Regions from separate parts of the Homo sapiens genome. Here regions 1, 3, 4, 5, 6 and 7 are each linked to region 2. Evidence: promoter capture Hi-C in 16 types of primary human blood cells and fetal thymus (Javierre and others, 2016). All regions are on one chromosome and are shown on one strand. Each heading gives the region's core, a stretch centred on a gene start or on the middle of the fragment in contact. The rest is flanking DNA. Distances are from core to core; before and after follow the strand shown.

Region 1 (2,700 bases), core at 171-2,670, 350 kb before region 2:
CCTTCAGGGGCTTGTGGATTCAGATCTCTGCTTCTCTCTGTACATCTGCTTTCTTTCTTTTCTCTTTCTCAGCTAGCCACTTTCGCTGCTGCTGAGCACATGGCCAAACATGGTGCATCCTCATTACCCACATTTGTACGTCCTTAGTTCGACTTCCCAGCCCAGGGAGACTAGCATCAATGAATCTAAATTCCTGAGAGAGGATCTGATCAGTCTGGCACAGGTGATATGTCTGCCCTTAATCCAACCAGACAACATGGCTTAAACATGGCTGCCAAGGGCCCACCCATGTGTAGGTTAAGTTTGGAGGCTATTTAGCTATCTCAAAGTGTATCTTTATGCTTGCCATATTTTTTTTCTTTTTTGAAGGAAATTTTGTATTATTTTAATTATTTTTATGGACAGAAAACTCAACAGTGTACATTTAACCCAGTTCAGTGGCAAAGTTCTTTAACCTTTGCCTTTTCGAGCTTGATAATGTGAGCTACAGACTTGAGACCCAGGACATTGCCTCCCCAGTGACAGTGGATCTCATCGTATCTGTCGTAGTTGGTCCTGATAGCTTCCACCAGCTTAGCCAAAGCTCCTTTGTCTTCCGAGTTAACCTTTGTGAAGACAACAGTGGTGCAGGTCTTCCTGTGGACTAGATGTCCCAGTCTTGCCTTCCCCTTGATAATGCAGTAAGGGACCCCCTTTTTACAACATGGGGCAGGCAGGCAGAAGACAGCCAGCTCGATGGGATCGACATCGTGTGCAGTCATCACCAGCTGAGCTTTCTTGTTCTCCACCAAGGTGGTGACCATGTTAACTCCTGCTCGAAGGACAGGTGGTCTCTTAGTGGGGATGTCCCCTTTGCTGGTAGCTTTCTTCTTGGCCTGGGCCAACAGCCTCTGCTTCTTCTCTTGCTTTGTCTCTGGCCTGTACTTGTGGGCCAGCTTAAGCAGCTGAGTAGCTGTTTGGTGGTCCAGGGCCTGGGTGAACTGGTTAATGGCAGGAGGCACTTACATCCACTTACAGAGGATGGCTCTCTGCCGCTGCAACCTGATATAGTGGGGCCATTTCACAAAGCGGGTGAGGTCTCTTTGGGGCTGGATATCCTGTCCAATGCCAAAATTCTTAAGCCTTTTCTCAAACAGGGGATTCACCACTTCCTTGGCCTCCTGCTTCTTTATGACAGCAGGAGCTGGAGCCATTTTTTCTCCTTGGCTTTCTTTCCTTTCAGCATCTTGGGTGGCGGGAGGAGAGACTTATGGTTGCCATATTTTTCATCTAGCATTATACCAAATAACTTTGTTTCTAATTTCAGTTTTATTGATGATATTTTCGCCTTTAAAGAAGGTGAAAAGCAACAATTTTCATATATCAGGGGTGATTTAACGTTACAGATGCCACTAAGATGAACATTGAATGTACTGTTCTCTCTCTAAGCCTAGTTCTTCCTCTTATAAATAGGGATCAGTCTAAATGTTGAGAAAATTAGAGAATTGGGAAATCTGCCTCTCCTAAGTAGTAAAAGTTGAAAAGTAGTACAGTAAGATAGCAATCTAATAGCACAGTCATTTTCTACAATGTATATAATTTTAATCATCACAATAAAGAATGTTTAAAGAAATTGAGGTAGTTTAATCATAGGCAGTGCTGAGATGTGACCATATAATGATCTTTTAGAGAGAAGGCTGCTACTTTTTCTTTGTCTACACAAGGGTTAAAAAAAGAAGAAATGTTTTTAGGAGGAATGTAACATAGTGCCTGGCACATGGTTAGTATTCAATAGTATTTTACTAATAGTGTTTACTTAGAAATATTTATCAGAAATAACTTCAAGGTGTCTTTGGACCGATACAATGAGTTACCAAGGAAAGTAAATACATCTTTCCTTCTTCCTTTTTTTACCATTAAAGGAAACCAAAATACTTCACCCTCAAATATACTTCTTTGACATATTTGAGATGGCTATTCAGAGAACCTGCAGACAGGAATAGCCCTGTAAAACTACCTTTTGTGGGGGAGATTTACATCTGTAGAGAAAATCTACATTGCTGAAATAAACAGCCAGCCTTTCTGTGCTGTGACTTGTCTGGATCTAGGACAGATGGGCTCCTGGGAGAGAGAGACTGAGAGTTTGACACCTCTGGGGATCTAATAGAAACTTACTCTTTTGGAGGGCTGCTACCTGTGAGGTTTCATCTGCATTACAAGACTGCCTTTGCTAGCCATGCTTTTCTTCTCTTCCACCCATAACTGGTCTTGCCAGACTCTAAGCCTCTATTCCTTCTGTAACCTCAGGATGAAAACTTCAACTATCTGACCCTTTCTTTGAGTTTTTCTTATTTTTTATAACTCCTGTGCACATGCGTGCATATTACTATTTTTGTATGCCTTTTTTCCTATTAACCTGCCTTTTGTCAGTTGATTTTCAGTAAACACTCAGAGGTTGAAGGGGAGGTTTTCCCTAGGCTCCTATACCATCTTGCATATTTGGGATATCCCAAGACATCCATGACGCTTGGCTCTCTAGGACATTGAAATCTGGTTAGGGAAGTAAAATATGAAAGCAATGGAGAACAGTCTGCCTTTGGCACTCAGAGATCTCTAGATGTTTTCACTTGTCCCATTTCATCCTTATAGGTTAAGAAGCAGGGAAATAGAGTTCATTACAATTTCAAATTATAATTTTGCTGATATTTTCCCCTTCAGGGA
Region 2 (2,700 bases), core at 138-2,637:
CGCCTATAATCCCAGTGCTTTGGGAGGCTGAGGTGGGAGAATTGCTTGAGCCCAGGAGTTCAAGACCAGCCTGGGCAACACAATGAGACCTCGTCTCTACAAAAAAACTTAAAAATTAGCCAGGCATGGTCTCAGCTACTCAGGAAGCTGAGGTGGGAGGATTGCTTGAGCCCAGGAGGCTGAGGCTGCAGTGAGCCGTGATCATGCCACTGCACTCCAACCTGGACAATAAAGCAAAAGATCCTGCCTCAAAAAAGAAGAAAGAGAACAGAGCCCTACAGAGAAGGAAGAAGGCAGGCACATTGTCACTTTTGCTCTCAAGCTCCCTGGATCTCTCCTAGAGGAGAGACCCCCAAACCTGCCTGCACTCCGCAGGAGCTGACTGGGGGAGGACCCTTTCCAGGGACACCTCCCTGGAGGTGCTCTAATATTTGGCTGCTTGGCCATTCTGGGCCAAGAAGACTCCTTCCCTAGCCCAGGACCATTAGTCTCCCTGATGATTGCTGCAGAAAGGCCCAATTTTCAGGGCCCTACCTAGCCCTTCAATACCTTTGAGCCACCCATCTTGTCTGAGCCAGAGTCCTAAAGCCAGTCCTGAGCTTCAAGACCCATGCTTGCCCTGGCCACTGCTTCCCCTGGGAGAGCTGCCTGGCTTCCTGCAGAGAGCTGGCCTGCAAGTTGGAAGGGCATATTCTCCTCCCGGCTCCCTGGCTAAATTGCTATAGAATTTCAGGTCACTCAAGTGAACTTTCTGTGACTATTTTTTCCTCCCTTCAAGATTTATCAACTATTAATTGGAGCCTCTAGATGCCTGCAATGTGGAGGTCCTGAGAATTCAATACAGAATAATACAAATGCAGTTCTTCCTGTGAAGCCTGGACAACCTTTCCCTTCCTTCCTTCCTTCTTTCCTTCCTTCCTTCCTTCCTTCCTTCCTTCCTTCCTTCTTTCTTGAGTTTCCTGATGCCAGCTCCTCAGATGGTGAGCCAGCGGTGGGAAGGTAGTGGTGGGGGTGATTATAAATACAATAAGAAATAAACCCACACACTGCAAAACTCCATGTTAATACTATTAATAGTATTTCCAAATTGCATACAGGTAGAAGACAGTTCCTTAGCAACATGATCGTAATGAGAATTCCACAAGGGCATCTGGAATTTACTCTGTCAGACATTCCAGCTTATCAGGAAATGAAAAGGACCAAGACTATCATATAATGTGCAAACTATGCTAATGCCTATCACTAGTGTATATCAGACCCCAGTTACAGGACTGACCCATGGGACTCCCCTTGTCTCAGCTTTAATCACATGAAGTACCTGAGGCCTGTTGTCCTCCTCGGGGCTCAATGCCTTCTTGCGGCCAGGTCCTTCGTATAATTCAAGAGTTGAAATCACTGTCAACACAGCCCTTTGACTAATGTTCCGGGGTGACAGGCCTGGCACGTGAACACATGAGTGATGCTATTATCCCCCAAATCACAGGTGAGTGAGGTCTCTGGAGATGTCCACCCCCACATGAATTTCCCTTTGTGGTAGCAGTAACATCTGAGTCACTAAGCATGGGGCCACAATTTAGGCTCACTCCCTCCCCTTCCTGTGCCCCAAAAGGGGGCTGAAGGCGGGTCCTCACAGCAGAAAAAGCTCCACTTCCTCCGAGCTCCAGACAGCACATCTCAGCTGTGTTGGGCCTTACAAGGCTGCGGTCAACAGGCACCCAGGTGATGAGGTCTTTCTCAGCCTGTTGTTCTCTTGTTAGCCCTTTGATGTTTCAAAGCTGACGAGGTCAGCATCTTCCAGGCTGCAGGAAACATGCCTGCCAGGTATACCTTTCAAGCAGCTGATTAATATGTCATGTGGTCTCTGGTCAGAGGAGAGTGTAAGGGCTGTTGAAATGACTCACCAGCTCAGCTCCCGTGTCTTTGGGAAACGCTACCCTGTCAGCAAGAGGCCTCCAGCTGAAAAGTAAAGACACAGATCTGAAAGGGTACAGTTCTAGCGTCCAACAAACTATTATACATCCTAAATGAAGTGAGAAATGGTAGGCTCTTCACCTGCCAGGGCCTGGCGGGGCCTGTGTCCCAGGACTGCTTAGGAATCCAAGCCTCGCACTGTTTATCCATTATACTGATGAGAAGCCTGTGAGACAGGGAGGCTTGCTGGGCCTCCAAAGTCCACTTGCTGGCTTGTTACTTGGCACCATCAGATCTACGCTAGGGATGGTGTAACTAGAGCCTTTGAGTGCATGAAAAGTCTGTGGCCTGACAAAGCACTTACTGACCAAGGAAAATCAACTTCAGGTGCAGCAGGAAAGGTCTGGTACCCAGAATGTCTGGGGTTTTGAGACACTGGAAAAGATTGCCTAATAATGTCATGGGCTCCCTTCCCTGGAAATAATCTGAAAATAGGATAAGTTCCCTCCAATCTTGGATGGGTCAACCTCGTCTTGAGGTAAGGAGACGGTTACATCAACCCATGGAGAGGGCCTGTCAGCAACTCTGAGTCTATTAGAGGGTATATTTTCAAACACAAAAAACTTTTTATCCTGGTAAAATATACCTAACGTAAAAGCTACCATTTTACCCATGTTTAAGTGTACAATTCAGTGGCATTAAGTACATTCACATCGTTGTATAAGCTTCCCCGTCATCTCTCTCCAGAACTTTTTCATCTTTCCAAACTGAAACTCTGTGCCCATTAAA
Region 3 (2,700 bases), core at 137-2,636, 470 kb before region 2:
CCCAGGCTGAGTCACCAAGTAAAATGAAGGGCAGTGTGCTCTATTTAAAATGTTCATTTCATTTTCGCATTCCATTCTTTACTAACAGAATGGTTTCACTTCATTTCCAGTCACTTTCATTTTCAGGTTGTCAAGCTTCACTTAGTGTCAGTTGTGTTCCCACACTCAAACATGTGCCTTGTCTTCCTTGATCTTCTCTCTGAGGATGTTTCTCTGACTAATGTGCTGTGGTCAGAACAAGAGCATTGCCACATGGTGCATTTCCTAGGTAGGCATGTCTAAAATCATTAAGTGGCCTAGCTCAGAACATTCTTTGTGACCCTTTCCCCTCCCCACCCAGTGCCTAGTGACTGATTTATCTGAATATAAGGCTACTTCCACTTTTAGTTCAAGGGCCTTGCTCCCTGCCTGCAAGAATCTCTCTAATCACATTGCCCTCCCTCCACCCGCTTTCCCCATTGAAACCAATGTTTGGAGAAGATAGAAGAATGAAAAGAACATCTCAGGTCCTGTTTTTGTACCACCTTCACTATTGTAGCACCTCTTTTGTGTTGCCAACTGAATATGGTATACATGGCTTTAAGGGGGAAAAAAGAAAAATAAAACATAAGAAAGTAGGAGAGCTCCTAGCTTTCTTAAATGAATTAAAGGCCTTAGGCCAGAGTGAATTATATTATAGATTGTAGACTAGATATGGTGGGGAAGGTTACTCAACAACTTGGTTGGGAAATAAATTAATATATAAAACCATCAGATATCAGAGCATAGTTGTGGAAAGTCACCTAAGGAAAGTCATTGTCTCTAGGCCAAAGACTGGCCTAGACGTAAGTAATGCACCAGTGTGTCAGAAAGGGGGTTGGTCGACATCAGAAGCACCCAGAGGCAAACACTGGTTGTGCCCTGTACCCACAGTAACTGTCCATAGAAATGTGAATGTTGGTAGTCTTCAAAGTTTCAGTGTCACTGGCAAGTCCTTCTTTGTTGGAAATTCAATTTAACATTCAAGTTCTATAGCAAATGCCTCCTATTATGATGTCTTGTGTTTACAGTTTGCCTCTGTAAGTAGAACCCTCTAAAGGGAAAAATGCTCTGGTCAGATTGTTATGGTCTGTATGACAGATACATAACTGTTGTAAATCAACACATTGGCATTCTCGTTTGCTCCACCAGTTTGTTGTGAACTTCGTCAGGGGAAGGCATCATGCCTAAGTCTATTCAACTCTGGGATACTGACAAGGTCAAATTTCTGTGCCTGCAAGGCTGGGACTGGACCCAAGCTGTACAGTTCATACAATGAAATAGTGCCATTTAGTAAAAAAGGGAGATAATATGGCACTTGGTTGGAAGTTTGGCTCTAGAATCTGATTGAACTGGGTTTGAATACTAGGTCAGCCACTTACATGCTGTATGACCTAAGACCCCGCTCTAAAAAGGATATTATCTTTACACTGACCTCAGAGGGCTGTTTTGAGAATTAAATTAGACAATCCATGTAAAATACTTGACTCAGAGCCTTACATAGAGCTGTTAGCAGCAGCAACAACAGCAGCACCAGCAGCAAGGTAAATACCACCATGTGTGTCCTTTGGGTGGTCAGCAGTTTGCTGAACAATTTGGACTGGTTTAGAACCCTCCTAACTCACTACTGGGGACTTTCCATTGGAACCACAGCACTGGGTAGTGACAGAATTTGCCAGTGTAATCACATCATTTATGAGAAATGATAGCAATAGGGTTTGGTGTCATAGTAATGGAAAATGGCACTGGACACTATCCTAATTTTGAAGAAATGGAGTGAAGAAGAAGACATGTTCCAGAATGCACAGGACATTGATCTTCAGCAAATTTTTAGAGTGGATTACTGAATGATTACGTGTGAGAAAAATGTGATTATTAGGAGTCAATATGAGCTCATTGAAAACAAAACATTCCTATTTCTAACATCCTTAAAGTCTTTCACAGTTCATCTTATTGGTTATGGAAATGTCAAGGGATAGATTTTTATTTCTGGGAGGAGTTTGGCTAAGATTTTTATGATACTCTTGTTGTCTTGTTGAGGTTAAGTAGATTCATAGCTGGTTGAACAAATGTCCACTGGCAGTTTTGACCTGATGGATGGACTAATGTCCATCTGGAGAGGGGTCCTCAGGGTAAGCCTCAGGAACCTGTCTAGTGATGCTGTTCTATCCAATTTTCTCATTAAAAATTTCTGACGAAAGCACAAATAATGTGCTTTTGCAACAAGTGAGATAGGATTTTTTAAAGATCTGTGTAGGTTGATGGGCGGATTTGCTAATAACAACCATATGTAGCATTTATTGAGTACTTACTGTGTGCCAGGCAAAATGCTAAATGTGTTGTATGACTTCTCTCATTTAATCCTCACAGTGACCCTCTGAGGTGTATACTAGTAATATTCCATTCTATAGATAGATGTAGAGGCACAGATATGCTAAGTCATTTACCCAAGTCCCACAGCCAATAAGAGGCACAGATGGCAGAGGACCATTTGTCTATCACCAAAGCCCATGCTCATAACTGTATTATGCTACTAGAACCAGTGAGTCAGAATTTTACACAGATTAATGTAAAGTCCTAAGCTAAGGTTAACAAAATAGTATGTTAAGTCTTGAAGGAGGAAGCTTAGGTTGATAGCAAGTAATAAGGAAAAGATTTAGGGACATTAGTTGGTGGGAAACT
Region 4 (2,700 bases), core at 41-2,540, 330 kb before region 2:
ACTCGATTTCCCTTTCTGTGAAATGAGAAGATAATCCCAGTATTAGGGTACTATCCGAGTACCTTCAGGCTTTTTAGGAAGAACTCTAGTGAGTAAGCTCTCTGGCTGTAGAGGGGACCGTGATGCACAGTAAAAAGAACCCCATCTTGTCACTGGAGGGATATAGGCAGCCGCCCAATGGGAGCTCCCATACTGTAGAGATGGCACTCTTGCTTTGGTGGGACTAGTACAGATGTATTTTTTATGTCCCATTTCTTATGTTGCCTATTTTTTGGAGACATATTTGTTTGTTAACTCTTTGAGTTTCATAAAGAAAACATTAATACAAATTTTATTGAGTGGTAGGTTAGCTCCAATATCCTCAAAATAGATTGAGCATTTTAGAATTCACCTTAATGTTACCTGGAATGCAAAAAGATTTGCCTAAAACGTTTAGCTCCTCATTTTGTTACTGGCTTCATTCTGATTTTGGAAACAACAGAAAGTAAAGTGGAACTGGGGTTTTGGGTCTATTAGATTCTCCAATTTAATCTCGCCCATCTATTCCTGATATTAATAAACTCTTTCTAATATCAGTTGGCCATGGTTGTCATTCTGGTAAATACCTCCCTGGAACCGGACTGAATAAAATTCATGAGACTTGCTGGTCACAGCTGGAGATTGGTTCAGTGGTTTGGGTTTTTTTTTCTACCAAAGTGAAAATAGAATTATTGTTATTATTGTTTTCTAGTTTTAAAATGACTAAAAGTACAAAGGAAAAATGGAAAAGTCAATTTAAATCCTACTGCTGAGAGAAATAACATTTTGGTGAGCAACTCTCCAGATCACTCTCAGAATGTGCATATTATACTTCCATGTGCCATTGTTAGAAAACAAGAGTGTACTTTCTCATTGTGGACAACTCTATGTCCATAAATAATGACACCATTAATTATAGTGACAGTATATAATATTCCATTAAACAGCTGTGCTATTATCCATTTATGCATTTCCCAATTATTATTCATTTAGGTTTTTTTATATTGCTTACTATCATTTAAAAATTGCAGTAAACATTCTTTTACATCCAGATTTCCAAATTTGTCTAATTATCTCCCAGGTTATATAGCCATATCTTGAGGATATTGTAGACATGGTTCCAGACCATTGCAATAAAGTAAATATTGCAATAAAGTGAAATACATTTTTTGGTTTCCCAGTGCATATAAAAGTTATGTTGGCCGGGCGCGGTGGCTCACGCCTGTAATCCCAGCACTTTGGGAGGCCGAGGTGGGCGGATCACAAGGTCAGGAGATCGAGACTATCCTGGCTAACAGGGTGAAACCCCGTCTCTACTAAATAAATACAAAAAAATTAGCCGGGTGCAGTGGCGGGCGCCTGTGGTCCCAGCTACTCCGGAGGCTGAGGCGGGAGAATGGCGTGAACCCAGGAGGCGGAGCTTGCAGTGAGCCGAGGTTGTGTCACTGCACCCCAACCTGGGCGACAGAGCGAGACTCCGTCTCAAAAAAAAAAAAAAAAAAAAAGTTATGTTTACACTCTACTCTATTAAAAGTGCAATAGTATTATATTTTTTAAAAACAATATAGATTACCTAAATTTAAAATACTTAATTGCTAAAAAAAAAAATGCTAGGGATCATCGGAGCCTTCAGTGAGTTATAATCTTGCTGGTGAAGGGTCTTGCCTTAGTGTTGAAGGTTGCTGACTGTTCAGGGGGTGGTTGCTGAAGGTTGGAGTGGCTGTAGCAATTTCTTAAAAAATGACAATAGGCCGGGCGCGGTGGCTCACGCCTGTAATCCCAGCACTTTGGGAGGCCGAGGCGGGCGGATCACGAGGTCAGGAGATCGAGACCATCCCGGCTAAAACGGTGAAACCCCGTCTCTACTAAAAATACAAAAAAAATTAGCCGGGCGCGGTGGCGGGCGCCTGTAGTCCCAGCTACTTGGGAGGCTGAGGCAGGAGAATGGCATGAACCCGGGAGGCGGAGCTTGCAGTGAGCCGAGATCCCGCCACTGCACTCCAGCCTGGGCGACAGAGCGAGACTCCGTCTCAAAAAAAAAAAAAAAAAAAAATGACAATAATGAAGTTTGCCTTATGGATTGACTCTTATGAAAGATTGCTCTGTAGCATGTCATGCTGTTTGATAACATTTTATCCACGGTAGAACTTCTTTCAAAATTGGAGTCAATCCTTTCAAACCCTGCCACTGCTTTGTCAACTAAGTTTCTGTGATATTCTAAATCCCTTGTTGTCATTTCAACATTGTTCATAGCATCCTCACCAGTAGATTCCATCTCAAGAGACCACTTTCTTTGCTTATCCAAAAGAAGCAACTCCTCATCATGTTTTGTCATGAGATTGCAGCAATTCAGTCACATATTCGGGCTCCATTTCTAATTCTAATTCTCTTGCTATTTCCGCCACATCTGCAGTAACTTCTTCCAATGAAGTCTTGAACCCCTCAAAGTCATTCATGAAGGTTAGAATCTTATTCCAAGCTCCTATTAAGGATGGTATTTTGACCTCCTCCTATGAATCACGAATCTTCTGAATGGCATCTAGAATGCTGAATCCTTTCTAGAAGATTTTCAACTTACTTTGCCCAGATCCATAAGAGGAATCACTATCTATGGCAGCTATAGCCTTACAAATTGTATTTCTTAAATAATAAGTCTTAAAAGTCAAAATTACTCCTTGATCC
Region 5 (2,700 bases), core at 78-2,577, 420 kb before region 2:
TGGCCCCTGTTCTTGAACGAAATGCAAAGCAAGGGAGGATGATTTAAAAGCTCTCATTGTTCAATTCCCACCTGTGAGTGAGGACACAGGAAGGGGAACATCACACACCGGGGACTGTTGTGGGGTAGGGGGAGGGGGGAGGGATAGCATTAGGAGATATACCTAATGCTAAATGAGGAGTTAATGGGTGCAGCATACCAACATGGCACATGTATACATATGTAACAAACCTGCACGTTGTGCACATGTACCCTAAAACTTAAAGTATAATAATAATAAAATAAAAATAAATAAACATAAAAAAATAAAAGCTCAGAGCACAAATAGAGTACTCAGAAGTTTTTGCTAGGTTATCATGTGTAATTTAACAAGATGGCATTTATCTTTTTTTTAAGAGACTGAAGAAGAATTAGACAAGGTTAGCTGTGTAAAGCCAGTGGTAATCTGCCACATGTGGTTATAAATGGCCATAATTTTGTATGATCCCAAAGCAAGATAGATAGCAGATTAAGGGTCAGCACAGATCTGCAAGTTGAGCTCATGGCACTTTATTTCCCTCCCTAGCCCCTTTTCTAGTGCTTAGGTAGCAGGCACCAGTTAAGCATGGTGTCTTGACCATGATACTGTGGACCAAGCAGCGATATGGCTATGGCTATATCACTGTTTTGCCTGAGAGTCATTTATTCCTTCATTATATATTTATTGGGCATCTACTCCGGGCCAGGCATGTGTTGGGCATTGAGAAAGTGGTGAAAAAGACAGAGGTCCTGTCCTCAAGGAGCTTTCATTCCAGTGGAAGAATTCAGATAATACACAAAATAACAAATATATAAGATATTTTCGAGTGGTGATATATTTGACCAGGGAAATAAAACTAAGGAAAGTGATAATGGGGGGGTGTGGAGACTGGCTGCTATAAAATGGGTGAGCAGAGGAGGCCTCTATGAGGAGGACTTGCATTAGCTGAGACCTAAGTCATGAGAAGCATCCCCATGGGTCTTGGGAAAAGTGAGGAAAACATATTCAAATAGAAAGAAATATCTGGTGCAAAGGCTCTGGGATAGGAGTAAGCTTAGAGTATCCCAGAACAAAAAGAGGGCCAGTGTGGCTGAGAGACCGTGTGTGTGTGTGTGTGTGTGGAGAGGGGAAGACAGCGGGGGTAGAGATAGTAGGGGAGTAATTACCTCACAAGTTTCATGGCTGACACCTCTATAACAAAGGAGATTAACAAGAGAAAAGCATAGCACATTTATTTAACCAAAGTTTTACATGATGCAGGAGCCTTCAGAAATTAAGATCCAGACCCAAGGAAAGCTGTATTATTATGGTTAGGTTTGATGAAGCATGGACAGTCATGTAGAAGTATAGTTGGACAAAAAGCAGATATGACCTAATGATGATAAACTAGGGGGATCTTAGCAAAGCCTGTTTGTTTAGTTTCTTCTTGGCCTCTGTGTTTAACATTCCATCCCTCCGGGTATAGTCAAGACACCTGTCTCATGAGGGTCTTCAAGAGAGAAGGTCAGAGAGACCTTTTTGCTTCTGCAGTTTTCTTAACTTCCTTCAGCTTAATACTCAGTGCGCCAAGCTTCCATATTTGGGGGTAGCATTTTCTGCACTCTATCATGCTATAAGCTGATTTTCTCACATTTAGAGGAACATTCAACAGCTAACATAAACAATTACCTGATGTCATATTTGAAGATATACTTAGATAATAAGGTCTTAAAAAACAGTAAGTACATTAAGTACATTCACAACAATTGTTAATCTTCCATTAGTTCTGAAATGCCTAATCTAACCTTTGTTTTATCTCAGACTTGGGCTAGAATGCTCCTTTTAATTCATTCTGCATGATTTCATAGAATCAATTTTTTCTTAAGGTCTCATATCCTTCAAAGACTTTAGGGCAATTGGTCACGAAGACCCTTGCACCTCCTCAAGGCTGTGTGCTGTGGATGTTGCAGCTTAAGGAAGCATTTTGAAATTGGGCATCTTTCACAGCCTAGTGTAGAAGTTATTGGCCCGCAGTTTTTACCGGCTTTCTCTTTCAGAAATCTTCTTTTGTTCCTGCCACAAGGCAAAAACAGGAAAAGAGATCTGTGTGAAAGAATGCTCTCCCTTTTCCTTTTGTGGTGATTGTGTATCTTAAGAGAAGGCCTCAAAGGTTCCCGGAGCTGTCTGTCTTTTCATGTAAATGGAGCCCTTAAGCCTATTTAGAAGTGTGCGAAAAGACTGTGGGAGTTGAGGTGAAAGATACAGAAGAGTAGCATCAGCACCCCGTTTAATGTATTCAAGTTCAACTGTGCACTCTCTCTTTCTTGTATATAATTAAAAATACTGCAGAATTGTATTTTGCACTTGTACTTTTAATTATATGCTATTCATATTACTATATACCCATATAGTGTGCAGCGTTGCAACTACAAAACCATATATTTTGTATTGGGAGGTTTAAGGGATTTTCCAGGGTAATTTTGACCGCGTAAAATTTGCCTTACATGCCAACTCTAGAATACAATCCCCACGTAAGATGTAACCCTCTATATTAGGTATTTTTAAATCCCTGCTTATCCCAAAGTGAGCAGAACTGGGACTCACATTCACCCCTTGCCCCCAAACCAGTAACAGGTATAGGGTTGTCACTGAATTTTGTGAGAAGAAAAGAGGTGAGACAGAAGGAACTTGTGAGGTTTGACA
Region 6 (2,700 bases), core at 12-2,511, 390 kb before region 2:
GCTTCCTTATTTGAAAATCAGTAAGTACTTTTATTTGTGTTGCCTTCCTGGTTTATCTTAAGCAAAGAAGAAGAGCAAAACACATAGAAAAGAAATTGCTTCAGGGTTGCAGTATAACTGCCACAAGAAACCCCTGACTTGTGTTCATAGCAAAGGAAGAGTTACCAGGTTATCCTCCCAGAAATCCAACAAAGAATGGAAATAATTGATTTTTCTAGATTTTTTTTTTGTATAGCTGAGCAGATAAAGAGGCTATATAAATATATTCCTATAGTCTATAATGAAGGTTTTTATTAGTGGATTAAAATGAACAATGTCTTAGAACATTTATAGCCATTCAAATATATTACAATGGATGTTAAGTTCCTGTGATTTACACACACACAGACATGCACACGCATGTATAAATTGCTCTGTTTTGCTTCAAGCATTCATTGTATCAGCTTTGCCATTGTGTTATTAACTGTGGTGTTAGGCAGGCCCTTTTGATGACTTTGGGTCTCAGTTTCTTCTGTTACATGACAGGTTGGAAGAATACAAGATTGCTAAAGTGTTTTCCAGCTCTAGCATATAAGATCATGAGGTAGGTCTGAAGGTCAGGAGCATTCACCCACTGATGGGGTTTTAATTCTGACTTACAGAGTAGGAAGAATGGCCGTGTTGCTGATGTTGCCCTAGATTAAACACAATAAAAAGGATCTTTAATAAATCTTAGCACTGATACTTCGGCATACCTGCAGGAGCCTTTCCTCCCTGTATGTTTTCTCTTTGTCACTCTGGGGACACTTCTGGTCTTGTCTGTCTGTCTCTTGCTCTCTCTGCCTCTCTCCACACAAAGGTGTACAAAATCAGAAGTGTGTGCAAACCAGTGAGAATGAGAAACACACTGGGATGGGGTGACTGGTCAATTTGCATAAGTTCCAAAAGTTCCATTCTCCCAATAGTTTGTGAATGGGATAGTTTGTGAAAGGCAGGCTGCAAATTGACAAGCACACTGCAAATATGAGGAGATATTTTAAGTAAATAGAGAAAATTCAGTTTGCCCTCTCATTCCTTCTCAAGGCACAAAGCTCAGGGGCAGGAGCAATGCCGGGAAAGTCCTTGGCCCTTGGGGTGTACTTCTCCCTTCTTTGGCTCTCCCACCTGGGAGCTGGATAACTCAACAGTGGAATGAAACCTCAATGAAGGGAATTATACCATGATGTCAAGCAGTGAACATGAGTCTACTTAATCCAAGCCAACAACTCAGCCACAAATTTAATAAGGGTGGTGGGGCGGGGAGACCCAGCAACACAAAAACAAAGAACTCTCAACTTTACAAACACTGGGAGGGCAACAGCTGGTCAGCCGAGATTAAAGGAGCGTGAGAGAGCACCTCCCATCTCCTGACTTCTCCTCCCCCATAGACGTCCCTGCAGCCAGCCAGGGCTCGCTTTTTACAGCCCTGTGCAGATGACCTTGTTCCAGCTAAGATAGGAGCTCTTTTGATCTCAGCAGGGGGATGCTCTGGGCCTGCAGCTGGCAGATATTAATAGTACAGGATCTGTTGGGGTGGAAGAGATCTCTCGGTTGGGCCAGGTCACTTGTATTCCCTCCTCTGCATCAGAGCAGAAGGGACTTCATTTCCCTGAGTCAGCCCCTGCTGCGTACTACTCCTCTTAGGTCAACTCAGATCATTTTATCGCTGGCTGCTCTTGGCTGCTTGTTCTCACCTCACAACTGTTTTCAAGGGAGCACTGTTTAAGCAGTGTACTGTGCACTGCAGCTGAAATCTATTACAGGACAGGGTAGACCTTGCCCCCCGCCCCCAAATCCCAGTGTGTGTCTCATACTCACTGGTTTGCACACACTTCTGATTTTGTATACCTTTGTGTGGAGACAGGCAGAGAGAGCAAGAGACAAGATCTGAAGTGTACACAGAGTGAGAAAGAGACAGCAATACAGGAAGGGGAGACTGTTGCAGGTATGCCAGAGTACCAATGCTAAGATTTCTGAAGGTCCTTTTTGTTGTGTTTAGGGCAACATCAACAACACAGTCATTTTTCCCACTCTGTAAATCAGAATTAAACCCTATCATTGGGTGAATGTTTCTGATCTTCAGGCCCTCCTTATGATCTTAACTGTTAGAGCTGGAAAAGACTGTAGCAATCTTCTAGTATCCACTCTGTCATTCAACAGAAGAGATAGGGACAGAAATAAGGATTTTTTCTACATTGTTCTAGACTAGGTACTTTGAGTCACAGTATTTTCTTCTTCAGATTTCATTTCATTGACAGAAGTTCAGACATATAGGTTATTATAGAGTTCCCTGCTCAGTTATTGTGACTGTTGTGTGGCCAAGGACACATTTCTTAGCCCTTGCCAATTCTTCCTTATGGTCATTGGAGATACTAAGAACTGTTGGACCTCAGTCATAGGTAACATCTCTTTCCCCCAGAGTGATTAATAGAGAAGGGATCTAACAGTCCAAATGGCCTAAGATGCCATATCCTATTCCAAAGTCACCTGGGATTTGAGCAGAACCAGATGAGTGCCCACCTACAGTTGGTAGGTGAGATTTGACAAATGGTAACAGTGAGCCCTGTGCAAGATTGAAGCTATAGACCATTGGCTTGCTTTCTTCTGACGATTTAACAGAGTAGCAGTTACTTCATTATGGTGACATGGCCCACTTCAGGAGTTCCACATGGCTTTATGGAA
Region 7 (2,700 bases), core at 108-2,607, 410 kb before region 2:
ACACAGCTCTGTAGCAAAAGTCATCTGTAAGACATATTTAAGACTTAGTTCATCAGAAAGAGGGTAGGGAAGAAAGGACTGTGTAGATTTATGAGCAGTGGTGGATGGCACAGGGATGGGGTCTTGGGCCCTCAAAGCCCTCCGAGGTAGTACTGGCTACTGGGAAAAGGATGTCGGGGAGCAGGTCCCACTTTTAGCTGCACTTGAAAAGATGAGTGTACAAAGCTTATGGAGTACTCAGGACGGAGAGAACATGGTGAGTGTTAGGGAAGGAAGCCTTAAATATAAACTTTACTCTTTAACCTCCTTGCAATCTCACTCTGAACCTCCTTAGTCCCAGGTATGGGTTTCTCTCACTTCTTACTTCCATAGTCCTCTCTTGGAAGCTCTTTGGCTGAATTAATGAAGGGGACCACTACTCATAAACCATAACCAGCACTTACGAGGAGCCTCACATTAGTAATGGACGACAACCCTCAGAGACAGCCATAGGTCCTAATGCTATTATTAATAGTCAAACCTGTGTAGAGAAAAAGGAGAAGCCAAGATCCAGTTCCACGGGACATAACAATTCACAAGCAGCTCATCCTTATTTCAGAAAGCCAGTAAGACCTAGCTTTCTCATGGAGGTTATTCTTTCACCGTCAGTCTGCCTCTTTTTCTGGGAGGTGCCCTCCCCTTCAGGATCAAGGAATGTAAAGACCATGAGATATGGAGTCAGACTTGGGTTTAGGCCCATTTATATGCTGTAAACTTTAGGCAAGTCACTTTTTCTCTCTGATACGGAAAGAGATATAATATATACCTTATTGATGTTGATAAAGATGTTCAGATGAAATTTTATATTCATATAAATGTGTATATTATATATATGGCCCGTTCATTATTTTAAAGCAATGTAAATAATTCTTATCTATTACCATAGTATTTCAAAGGCTACATCTTGCCACAGGTGAGAATCAGAGGTATGTTCTGGGGGTTTTTTTTGTTTGTTTTTGAGACAGAGTCTCGCTTTGTCATCCAGGCTGGAGTGTAGTGGCATAATCTTGGCTCACTGCAACCTCCGTCTCCCAGGTTCAAGCAATTCTCTCATGTGCCTCAGCCTACCAAATAGCTGGGACTATAGGCGCGTGCCACCATGCCTGGCTAATTTTTGTATTTTTGGTAGAGACAGGGTTTTGCCATGTTGGCCAGGCTGGTCTTGAACTCCTGGACTAAAATGATCTGCCCGTCTTGGCCTCCCAAAATGTTGGGATTACAGGCGTGAGCCACTGCGACCAGCCAGAGGCGTGCTGTGTTCTATTGGCTCTTTTGCCTACCAGTGCCAGAAATTTCCTACACTTCTTGGCATCTTGCTTTTCTCTCCTATGAAATAGGCAATACTAGTTGCCCTAGAGAAGAAATTTATCTAGAGAAAAAAATGTACAAGGTAGACACAGCTGGTGAGTTACCCTTATACTATTTCCAGTACTACCAATTTCATTTCTTCCAGAAGGATTTAGAATGCCACATAGTAGTTTTCCTGGTGCCATGCTTGAAATGGTGAATCTATTTGAAAGAAGGGATTTTGTAGTCACATTGATGTTGCTGCTTGCTGCAAGCCAGGCAAGTCACTTAATATCTTTATCCTTAAAAGAGGAATAATGTCACCTACCTCATGGTGTTACGATGAGGATGAAAGGAGGTCTGTAACTAAGGCACTGAACATGGTGTTTGATACTCACTGGGTACCCAGTAAATGTTAGTTTTCTTTGTCTAGACTATGTAGTGCTCTTCAGTTTTCACCCTGATCAAATTGCATTTGTTAAAAATTCCAAGTAAGACATGGCACTGGGTACTTTAAATAAAGGGGTGCTAAGGGAAGGTCAGCATGCGGTAGAGGGCTGAAAGAGCCAGTTACATTTGTTTGTTTGTTTGTTTTGTTTTGTAATAAACAACAGTGGCTTCTCATCTCCTTTCCCTGGTCCTGAGCCTGCTGAGTCACTGTTCCAGCCCTTGGGCCACATGATCTCAGGCTGTGTCTATGGAATACAGCAAAACCCACAAGAAACCAGCACTAATAGATGGCAGGTCATTTTGAGGGATTTTTCTTTGCGTTCCTGTGCTTGCTCTCCTGGTGAGATAGGAAACCTTTAATAAGACTTTTCCTAAATGATGTTGCATGTGAAATGCAGATTTTTTTTTTTCTGTTCTCCTAACAAATGACCATTTCATGAGGTTTCTTTTCATTTTTTCTTCTTTCCTGCTTCTCAGTACATTCCACAAAGAGCTTATTCCTCTGCTGGTTACTGATTGATGGTTCTACTCTGTATGCCCTTTAATTTTGCAATAAACCAACAAGGAGTTGAGACCACAAACTTAAAGAGAATTGACTTATTTGACTGGATTCACTGGAGCCAACAGGCAGATTTAGTCATTTCAGTGTGGTGCTAGGGAGGGCAGGAGGAGTCCATGAGAAGGAACACCGTGTTGTCAATAACCAGACAGAAAAAAGCTTGCTTGTCCTCTCATTCCAAAGCATGTGGGCATCTGTTCTCGGCAGTGATGCCTTTCCAGGCCTTGATGAAGGCAGGACGGCTTCCATGAGATTTGCTCAGAACTCCAGGATTCTGAATTCAGTGGGACTTTAGGTATGTAGGATTGGTAGTCAGTGTTTCCAGCTTCTGTGTCCCTTTTTTCAAAGGGATCATGGTATACCTT

Evidence for each region. The method cuts DNA at HindIII sites, captures the fragments that hold promoters and counts their contacts. A CHiCAGO score of 5 or more calls a contact.
Region 1: a fragment that was not itself captured here is called in contact with the fragment with the promoter of RAD51B-AS1 in region 2 in 1 of 17 cell types (non-activated CD4 T cells); the score reaches 5.2 in non-activated CD4 T cells.
Region 3: a contact is called between a fragment that was not itself captured here and the fragment with the promoter of RAD51B-AS1 in region 2, in 8 of 17 cell types (total B cells, activated CD4 T cells, M1 macrophages and 5 more). The highest score is 9.2, in total B cells.
Region 4: a contact is called between a fragment that was not itself captured here and the fragment with the promoter of RAD51B-AS1 in region 2, in 2 of 17 cell types (total B cells and naive B cells). The highest score is 7.3, in total B cells.
Region 5: a contact is called between a fragment that was not itself captured here and the fragment with the promoter of RAD51B-AS1 in region 2, in 10 of 17 cell types (non-activated CD4 T cells, total B cells, activated CD4 T cells and 7 more). The highest score is 11.9, in non-activated CD4 T cells.
Region 6: a contact is called between a fragment that was not itself captured here and the fragment with the promoter of RAD51B-AS1 in region 2, in 12 of 17 cell types (non-activated CD4 T cells, naive B cells, activated CD4 T cells and 9 more). The highest score is 15.2, in non-activated CD4 T cells.
Region 7: a fragment that was not itself captured here is called in contact with the fragment with the promoter of RAD51B-AS1 in region 2 in 10 of 17 cell types (naive B cells, activated CD4 T cells, non-activated CD4 T cells and 7 more); the score reaches 14.0 in naive B cells.

Annotation. Positions count from the first base shown.
Region 1 is chr14:68,338,304-68,341,003 of GRCh38, forward strand. All of the region lies in intron 8 of RAD51B (RAD51 paralog B), which reads left to right. It also overlaps the pseudogene RPL7AP5. Among named protein-coding and RNA genes, the nearest start is that of RAD51B-AS1, 350 kb to the right of the region's middle. The HindIII fragment of the contact is 8,350 bases long and covers 1-2,700 here.
Region 2 is chr14:68,684,053-68,686,752 of GRCh38, forward strand. It overlaps RAD51B-AS1 (RAD51B antisense RNA 1), which reads right to left and starts at 1,388. Exons shown (of 4, transcript XR_007064220.1): 1 at 1,319-1,388. RefSeq lists enhancers at 1-92, 1,676-1,725. The HindIII fragment of the contact is 3,133 bases long and covers 1-2,634 here.
Region 3 is chr14:68,210,891-68,213,590 of GRCh38, forward strand. All of the region lies in intron 7 of RAD51B (RAD51 paralog B), which reads left to right. Among named protein-coding and RNA genes, the nearest start is that of RAD51B, 390 kb to the left of the region's middle. RefSeq lists an enhancer at 39-318. The HindIII fragment of the contact is 2,507 bases long and covers 134-2,640 here.
Region 4 is chr14:68,354,933-68,357,632 of GRCh38, forward strand. The region is part of intron 8 of RAD51B (RAD51 paralog B); the gene reads left to right. Among named protein-coding and RNA genes, the nearest start is that of RAD51B-AS1, 330 kb to the right of the region's middle. The HindIII fragment of the contact is 3,314 bases long and covers 1-2,700 here.
Region 5 is chr14:68,259,181-68,261,880 of GRCh38, forward strand. The region is part of intron 7 of RAD51B (RAD51 paralog B); the gene reads left to right. Among named protein-coding and RNA genes, the nearest start is that of RAD51B-AS1, 420 kb to the right of the region's middle. The HindIII fragment of the contact is 517 bases long and covers 1,070-1,586 here.
Region 6 is chr14:68,294,080-68,296,779 of GRCh38, forward strand. All of the region lies in intron 8 of RAD51B (RAD51 paralog B), which reads left to right. Among named protein-coding and RNA genes, the nearest start is that of RAD51B-AS1, 390 kb to the right of the region's middle. RefSeq lists a silencer at 773-1,067 and enhancers at 1,273-1,567, 1,520-1,629. The HindIII fragment of the contact is 5,664 bases long and covers 1-2,700 here.
Region 7 is chr14:68,276,760-68,279,459 of GRCh38, forward strand. All of the region lies in intron 7 of RAD51B (RAD51 paralog B), which reads left to right. Among named protein-coding and RNA genes, the nearest start is that of RAD51B-AS1, 410 kb to the right of the region's middle. RefSeq lists a silencer at 2,213-2,507. The HindIII fragment of the contact is 2,269 bases long and covers 224-2,492 here.